2 separate regions of the Homo sapiens genome follow, and region 1 is linked to region 2. Evidence: promoter capture Hi-C in human tissues and cell types (Jung and others, 2019). All regions are on one chromosome and are shown on one strand. The core of a region is centred on a gene start or on the middle of the fragment in contact, and the rest is flanking DNA. Distances in the headings are between cores, read along the strand shown.

Region 1 (4,404 bases), core at 1,874-4,373, 720 kb after region 2:
GTGCCTGGGATGCCAGGGAAGCTTCTAGGGTGAGAAGATGTTTCAGAGCGACACTGATGGAGGCACAGGAGTTGGCAAAAGAGGAGAAAGTGGGAAGGTGCTCCGGAAAGGGGGAGTGAGAAAGGGGGCGTTGCCAGGGCTCTGCAGTTTGTTTTTGCTGGAAATGAAGCCTCTTATGTTTTCCCTGCCCTGATGTCTAGAGGAACGCATGTAGGAGTTTAAAACATGTGAAGTGTCGCCATCTGTATCGCTTAGAGATGTAAGTGTTTTGAAAAGTTTGTATGTAAATGTGAGTGAGACAGACACACACACACACACACAGAGTTAAACACAATTACTTTAAGGCAACACTCTCCAAAAGTTCAATGATGCCTCCAGTTTTAGGAATCAGAACCTATTTTATAGACCGCGACTGAGAGCAGGACGCCCTCTGCTTCTTCGGTGCAGGCGCCCCTGAGAACAATACTTCCACTGCATTTTCCCAAGTGGCAAACCTTGTAGTTGAAGATCCAGGTACTGCGGTGAGCACATTACTGCGTTATGTCAGATGCGTTATTATCTTTATCCATCTTCCCTTAACTCATCTGCCTGCAGTTTCATTTCATGTAGACACAGAATGTTTGACAGGAAGACTGATGAAGTAGCAGCCCCTTCTGCGTAACTTGGCAACCGACCGGGGTTTCTGCTTGTTTGTTTGTTGCTCGTCTTGTTTTTGTTTGTTTGTTTTGTTTTGGTAGAGACAGGATCTCACTATGTTGCCCACGCTGATCTGGGACTCCTGGCCCTAAGTGATCCTTCCATCTTGGCCTTCCAAAGTGTTGGGATTATAGGCATGAGCCATTGTGCCCAGCCTTGTTGTTATTTTTGAAGCCTGAATGGAGGCTCTTTGTACCCTCCAACTTGTGACCTGGAAGGGACACAGAGCAAAGAACTGTCCTCACTGGCCAAGGGGGACAGAGTGCTTACAGCTTTGGGTCATTACAGCTGTTCCTTGCCAGCTCTTTGATTTCATCTCCCTATCGTTTTCTGCTTTGTTTGCATCCTTTCTCTTTCAAACTATGCCACATCGTGACACCATCTGAAAACAAAAGTATCTTCCCCCAGATCTCTTGAAAAAAGAAGGAAAAGAAAGAAATAGGTAGAAAGTTAACCCAGTGGAGACTAGGGCAGTGTCACTGTTCTTGGACCTCCAGATACTACAGTTCTGTAGGCAAAGACTGCAGCAAAAGAAATCACACACCAGCTTACTCGGCAGCCAGATCAGACTGGGTGGAGATTGCAGGCTGTCCCAGCAGGGTCAGGCCTACAGCTGACCAGCTCCACCTGCCTGCTTCTCTCTTCCAATATGCCATTCTGAAGCTTGGGTTCCTCTGCATTTTCATCCTCTTTGCCTTGCAGTCTGCTGTTCACATGCAGGGGTTACTATGGTAATAGGAAAACCCTGTCGTGTTAACAATTTTTTACGGAGAGAGTTTAGGCAGAAGCATCAAACTGGTGTGTTTATCTTTTTATGGGGATAGAAGCCTGTGTTCTGAGTTTCCAAGGGAGTCAGAGGAGTTCTGGTCTACCCACAACTGTCCAAACCACCTGGAAATGGGTCATTGCCTGGGCCACTGGGTGGGGATGGACTGCCAGCCCTGGGTGAATCAGAAACGTCTTTGCCAGGAGCAAGGAACAAATAGTCCTGGCCTTCATTCCTTTCAGATATGGTAAGACAAGGTGTGCTGATCACCTCTGCACTGAGAAATCTGCCAAGTGAGTAAATGAACACATGGCTTTGTTCTCTGTTTATTCTCTCTGTTCTCTTTTCTCCTTTAAGAGTTGTGTTGAAAATGGGATCTAATTAAACCTAAGAGCTTCTGTACAGCAAAAGAAACTATCAACAGAGTACACAGACAACCTACAGAATAGAAGAAAATATTCACAAACTATGCATCTGACAAAGGCCTAATGTTCACAATCTATAAGGAACGTAAACAAATCAACAAGGAAAAAACAAATAACCCCATAAAAAAGTGGGCAAAGGACATGAACAAACACTTCTCAAAAGAAGATGTATAAGTGGTCAACAAAGATATGAAAAAATGCTCATCATAGCTAATCATCGGAGAAATGCAAATCAAAATGGCAATGAGATGCTAGCTCACACCAGTCAGTATGGCTTTCATTGAAAAGTCAAGAAATAACATATGCTGGCAGGGCTGTGGAGAAAAGGGAACGCCTACATACTGTTAGTGGAAATGTAAATTAGTTCAGCCACTGTGGAAAACAATTTGGAGATTTCTCAAAGAACTAAAAATAGAACTACAGTTCGACCCAGCAGTCCTATTACTGGGTATGTACCGAGAGGAAAATAAATCGTTGTACCAAAAAGACACCGGCACCCACGTGTTCATCACAGCACTATTCACCATAACAAAGACATGGCATCCATCCGGATGCCCACCAACAGTGGACTGAATAAATAAAATGTGGCACATATACATCATGGAATACCATGCAGCCATTAAAAAGAATGAAATTATGTCCTTTGCTGGAACATGCATGCAGCTGGAGGCCATTATCCTAAGCGAACTAACTTAGGAACGGAAACCAAATATCACATATTCTTACTTATAAGTGGGAACTAAAACATTGAGTACTTGTGGACATAAAGATGGCAAAAATAGACACTGGGATGACTAGGGGGAGGAGGGAGGAAGGGAGGGGGGCAAGGGTTGAAAAACCAGCTGTCAGGTACTAAGCTCAGTACCTGGTGATGGAATCATTCATAGCCCAAGCCTCAGCATCATGTAATATGCCCATGTAACAAATCTGCACAGGTATCCCCTGAATCTAAAATAAAAGTTAAAAAAAAGTTGTGTCGAGTGGGTATGTAGACTGGACTGTGAGCTTCCTGAGAGCAGGGCTGAAGCTTACTTGTTTTTTGTCCCCTCTTCCCCTGCTCCCCATTGGGTACCAATTATAGACCTGTGGATGCTCCATAAATGCTTGTATTGACTTGACCTGACTAGTTGGTAACCCACAGCAATGGAGAAACAGAGAGACAGATTACATCAGTGGTTTGAAAGAAGGAAGGTACAGGGGAAGCCTTCTCTGGGGAGATCTATCAGGGCAGAGTTCCTGAATGACAGGAGCTGTGGGACGTCATGAGTCTTAAGACATCTCTATACTGGGGCTGGGAAAGTGGCACCTACCTCCTTTCTCAGATAGCCCAGAGCAACAGGTGACATGGAGTGTTCCAGATGACTATGGTGGAACACATTTACGTGGCTCATGACATGACCCACTGGCACATTCTATCTGTCCTCCAACCTCCCCTGTTTCTTCCATCTTTTAAAGACTAATTATCTCTTCCTTTGCTCTGCAGCATAAGTGATAAGGAGGTAACAGCTGTTCACACTGGCATTGTACAGAAATCATAGTCTCATAGAACATAAGCATTGCCGTGTGCCAAAGATCATCTGGAACAGTGAGTGATTCACAGTCTTTCTTTCCCCCGTGCAACACTCTAAAGGGTTGAGCCACCTTCCTATCAGCAGAAAGAGCCTTCTACAGTGGTGATCTGGACTGCGGTGGGGTAGGGTGGGGAGTGTCACATGGGGATCTCAGGGGGTCGTGATGGTAGCTGTCAGGTTTGTTTTCTGTCATCTAGAGGGCATAGCCCTGGGAGAAGGGGACATAGGACAGGTACATTGTGATAAAAGTGATTAGGAATAGCCTGGAGCACACAATGGGTAGTCCTGCCCTCTCTGTATCCCACAGTTCTGATACTCCCTTCTCTATGCTCCTTCTTAAGTTGAAAATCACTGATCAAGTTAACTTAATTTTTCAGACGTGGAAAGCCAGAGAGACCCAAAGAAGGGAGGCAGCCAGAAACACAGAGTAAAAGACAATGCTGTGTGTTAAACCCAGGTCCCACAACTCCTGGTCAAGATCAGCAGAGCATAGAACTCTCTGAAAAGGACAAACATGCTTTCTGCAGAAGAGCAAAGGATATTGATGTACTCATTTGTTAGTTTAAAATGAAAGAAGAAGGAGGGGGCCAGGGAGTTCTTGAAAAGCAGCTGAAGAAGTCAGGGACACCTGGACATCAGCTAGAGGCATGGAAGGGCAGGGGCTGGTGTTTGGAGGCAGGAGAAAATCCTGCTTTACCTGAGACTGCAGGCTGCTTTCCAGGCTGGACTGCGATGGCAGAGGTGGTGGGGGCCAGGGGCTGTGGGTGGAGATGCGCTGGAGCTGGGGCGTGCGGGATCTCAAGCCCACCGTGTGCATCCAACTCCGTATTCAGCAAGGCTGTGTCAGTCACGCACCAGCTCTGTCACACACCAGCTAAGTGACTTTGGCAAGCTGCCTAATCTCTTTATGCTTCAATTTCTTCATTTGTAAAAATGAAGATGGTAA
Region 2 (4,587 bases), core at 887-3,386:
TGGGCCCATTAGCTCTCTGACCTTGTCTCACCCTCCTTCCCTCCAGGTGCTCAAATCTACTGGCCTCCTTGCTGTTCCTCTCTTGCTGTCCCTCTAACAAGACTGAAGGGTTCTGGGCTTTTGCCCTTGCTTGGTATGCTCTTTCCCTAGACAGCTGCATGGCGGTCCCCAACGCCTTCAGTTTTGCTTGAGTCTTTTCCATGGCACCAGTCCTTATTTTAAAACTGCACCTGTTCCTTCCTTGGTGCTTCCTATCCCCCTTTGCTACTTTATTTTTATTCCTAGTAACTGTTACCATCTGACTCCAGATACGTTAACTTTCACAAATCCCGCTTATCGTCCCCAACCCCACCTTCCTCCAGTGACATGTTAGCTCCTGGAAGACAAGGACTTCATTTTGTTCACTCTCACATCCCCCAGTGCTTAGAACAGAGCCTGGCCATAGAAGGCACTCAATATACGCTTGCTATATGAATGCCGAATATGCAAATTCTTAAATCTATAATAGGTAAGGCTAAGAAGTTTGGGACTATAAAGCCCAACTTATTTCCACAATGGGAAATACAATTTCCCTTTTGATAAAGAACTGTGAGAATCCTTTGTTTTCCATAGTAACACAATTTATATAACATGCCAAAAATTCCTTATCACTTCACATCCTCTCTCCAGTGCCTTTCCTGTATTCTGTAAAATATTAACTTACTATCATCAAAAAATCTTTGATTTCCCTCTGGTACTGCTACCATAATAATGCAAAGGCAAAGTGAACTCACTAAAAAATGGTATGGAAACATAAATAATGAAGAAATGTAATAAAGTGTGTTAACAACCAAACAAATTCATCTCTATTTCAAATCAAATTGTACTGGCACAGTGAGAACCCCAGTCCAAGTTTAACTTTATTATCACTATAGTCCTTAATGAGCTAACAGTTTTCTTACTAAACTCCTTTTAAACTAAAAAGGAGTTCATGTAGGACTCCTGCATATAACCATGAAAACTAAGCCTGAGAGAAATCAGTTCAGGCTACAAATCTAATTGATAAAACTCTTAGACAGCGCTACATGTTTGGCTAGATAACAGACGCAGGGATACTGAAGTAAGGGAGATGAGACCAAATCTCGCTCAGCCTTTGCTAGCTTTCTGACCTTGGAGAAGTCAGACTCTCGGTGCCTCAGTTTCCTTATCTGTATAATGGAAATGGTACCTGATAGGGTTGCTTCAAGGATTAAAGGTACCAGGTATTTAAAGCAATGGCACCGTGTCTGACATAAAATAAGCACTGAAAATAGCTATTACTAGAACATAAAAATAATCCCCACACCACTCATATTACAGCTCTTTAAGAGGCTCCTAGGTACCACCGTCATTTTTTAAAGATTGAGAAGCGCTACTATTCAATGGCATATTTTTACCTTATTATGTTCTGTAGCCAATTCCGAATACCGTGGAACGTTACAAAAAACAGATGTTATTTTCTTGAGGTACTGTTGGGAAAACCTCAGAGAGAACGATCTGCTTTTTAGCACTGCAAGCCAATTAAGGGAGGAAGTTTGCGATTACCCGAGCCCTAAGTGGAAGGTGTGCAAATCCTTCCTTTTAACCCGGGCACCCCGGAGCCATGTGCCATTCTGGAGAGCTCACTCACACCCCAACAGCTTGTCCCGGCGCCTGAACTGTGCGCTCCTGCAAGCACACGCCGCGAAAGCACCGTCTCGCCCCGGCCGAGCAGCTGGACCTGCGGCGTGGCTTCCGCGCTCCACCCCCCGATTAACCGCGAGCCAGGGCTGCCCGCGCTGCCCAGGGGTTCCCCGGACCACAGCCCTAACCCGCAAGCGCAAACGAGAACCCTCGCAGGCCTCTGCCCGGCCCTCGTGAACACACAGACCGCGAAGAAGCCATCACGGACCCGCGGTCGCTTCCTCGGCCCGGCTCCCTCCAGTCGCCGCGGAAGGTGTGGGAAGCCCGGGCACCCTCGCCCCTCAGGGCCCCGGCCAGGCCTACTGGACCTCCAGTGCTACAGGGACGGTGCAGGAGATATCAAGTGGCTCTAGCCCAGGCGCTGCCCACAGGCCCCGGGCCAAGTACCTGCGACTCGAACGAGCAGCAGCGACAGCGGCAGCTTCAAGGAGGCGGTGACGGGCGGAGGGGAGGGGCCAGACAGGGGTAGTCGGAGTCCCCGCTGGGCCAGAGCGGTCTCGCGCTGCAGCCCCCGGCGCGCCCCCTGCAGGTGGGCGGTCCTCACGGTGGCTCGGGCTGCTCTGAGTCAGAGACTCCGGGAAAGCCTGCTCTGAATTAGGGAAAGCATCAAAACTGTGGCTTCAGAAGAGAAAGACAGCCTAGAAGAGGTTTATCCGATCTGAGTCCGGGAGCATTTTGCACTTTTCACGTCCTATTCTAAATTCACATCCCATCCCCTTAGCTAAATGGGGGCTTCAAAGGCAAGGGCAGTTTCATTAGGTGCTATAAGCATCAATTAATAGTTGCTGGCCTCTAGGTAGGTCTTCTATAGACCCGAAATTGACATATTAGGAATAGCCACTAATGATTGGCTGCACTATTTCTAAAATATAACCCTGCATTTTTACTTTTTTCAAAAGCAGTTTGAATCTTTTTTTTTTTTTTTTTTTTTAGACGGAGTCTCACTCTGTCGCCCAGGCTGGAGTGCAGTTGCTCAACCTCGGCTCACTGCAAACTCCAACTCCGCCTTCCGGGTTCAAGCGATTCGCAGTTTGAATCCTTCCATCCTACTTTGTAGGGTTCCTTGACTTATTGCAACATGTACAGCCAAGACTAACTAAAAGTGTGGTGGGACATTCATATGCTGGAAACATTCTTTCATGCAAAACTAGTTTTTTCTTTTTTTCATTTTACCAACTCCAGTCCTACAGCCAAGACAACTCTCACTGCACAGTGACCGTCCTCTGAATTCTAGCACCCTCATCCAACCAAGCCACGCTCTATGGCAAACTTGTCCAACCCCTGGCCCACACCTGCAGGCTGCATGCAGCCAAGACAGTTTAGAATGCAGCCCAACACAAATTAATAAACTCTCTTAAAACATTATGAGTTTTTTTTTTTTTGCAATTTTTTTTTAGCTCATCAACAATTGCTGGTGTTAGTGTATTTTATGTGTGGCCCAAGACAATTCTTCTTCCAATGTGGCCCAGGGAAGCCAAAAGATTGGACACCCCTGCTCTAGGGTATCTCATGGTTCATTCATTCAAGGACCACCTACACCATCTAATAATTTGTTCTTGAAAGTGTCATGTAAAGGTTTAGGACTATTGTCATATTAGAGGAAATCACTATTACATTTCTTTCATGTAAGAATTATAAGATCTGGCCATGCACGGTGGCTCACACCTGTAATCCCAGCACTTTGGGATGCTGGGGTGGACAGATCACTTGAGGTCAGGAGTTCGAGACCAGCCGGACCAACATGGTGAAACCTTGGCTCTACAAAAATACAAAAATTAGCCAGGCACGGTGTTGCACACCTGTAATCCCAGCTACTCAGGAGGCTGAGGCACAAGAATCCTTGAACCCCAAAAGGCGGAGGTCACAATGAGCCGAGATCTCACCACTGCACTCCAGCCTGGGTGACAGAACAAGACTCCATCTCAAAAAAAAAAAAGTTATAAGATCTTAGGGCATTTCACATTTTATTGTGCTATGACTAATCAGCAATATTACTTGTTAAATTGATGACATTTATTAATCAGTTTGTTATTGATGTCCTCCTTCTGGTTGTGTATTGAGTTTATAATATCTTCACTGATGCCTATAAACTATGACAAATTAGCAAGGAAATTAAAGCTTTTCCCAATGTATTAATAAGATTTACTCTTCATTAGTTGACTCATCCAACAATCTGAGAGCCTCTCCATTACTTCTATTCAAATTTATCTCTTCCTCTTCATGAATTACTGCTTTTGATTGATATGAAAAAATGTAGGGATGGTGAAGACAGCTTTTTTCTCTGATGAGATTAAAGTGAACTGCATGCTGCACATATTCTATGGCTCCTTCATGTTACCACACCTGGGCACTTTGACACAGTGGCTGTTAGGAGCTGATATGGTTTGGCTGTGTCCCTGCCCAAAATCTCATCTTGAATTATAATAATACCCATATGTCAAGGGCAGGACCAGGTGAAGATAATTGAATCATGGGGGCAGTTTCCCCTATGCTGTTCTCATGAGAGCGCGTGAGTTCTCATGAGATCTGATGGTTTTATAAGGGGCTTCTCCTTTTGCTCAGCACTCATTCTGTCTCCTACCACCCTGTCAAGAAGTGCCTTCTGCCATGATTGTAAGTTTCCTAAGGCTGCCCCAGCCATGCAGAATTGTGATTCAACTGTGAGTCAATCACACGTCTTTTCTTATAAATTACTCAGTCTTAGGTGTTTCTTCATAGCAGTGTGAGAATGGACTAATACAGGAGCATTTGCAGAAGCCATTCCTACTCTCCAGCAATAAGTTAATAGTGCATGGAAGTGACCACGAACCACATGAACGTCTCCCATTAAATGCAAACCAAAGTACCCCCAGCTGCATTTCTGTTTAGCTGGATCCCAAAAATGCC

Evidence for each region. Contacts are between HindIII fragments. The study calls those that stand out against the background at their distance.
Region 1: a contact is called between a fragment that was not itself captured here and the fragment with the promoter of ANKRD46 in region 2, in 3 of the 25 tissues and cell types used here (heart right ventricle, mesenchymal stem cells and spleen).

Annotation. Positions count from the first base shown.
Region 1 is chr8:101,276,549-101,280,952 of GRCh38, forward strand. All of the region lies in intron 4 of LOC107984005 (a long non-coding RNA gene), which reads left to right. Among named protein-coding and RNA genes, the nearest start is that of LINC02844, 16 kb to the left of the region's middle. The HindIII fragment of the contact is 4,866 bases long and covers 691-4,404 here.
Region 2 is chr8:100,557,623-100,562,209 of GRCh38, forward strand. It overlaps ANKRD46 (ankyrin repeat domain 46), which reads right to left and starts at 2,137. Exons shown (of 5, transcript NM_001270377.2): 1 at 2,089-2,137. RefSeq lists enhancers at 2,039-2,333, 2,301-2,440 and a silencer at 2,131-2,300. The HindIII fragment of the contact is 6,170 bases long and covers 1-4,254 here.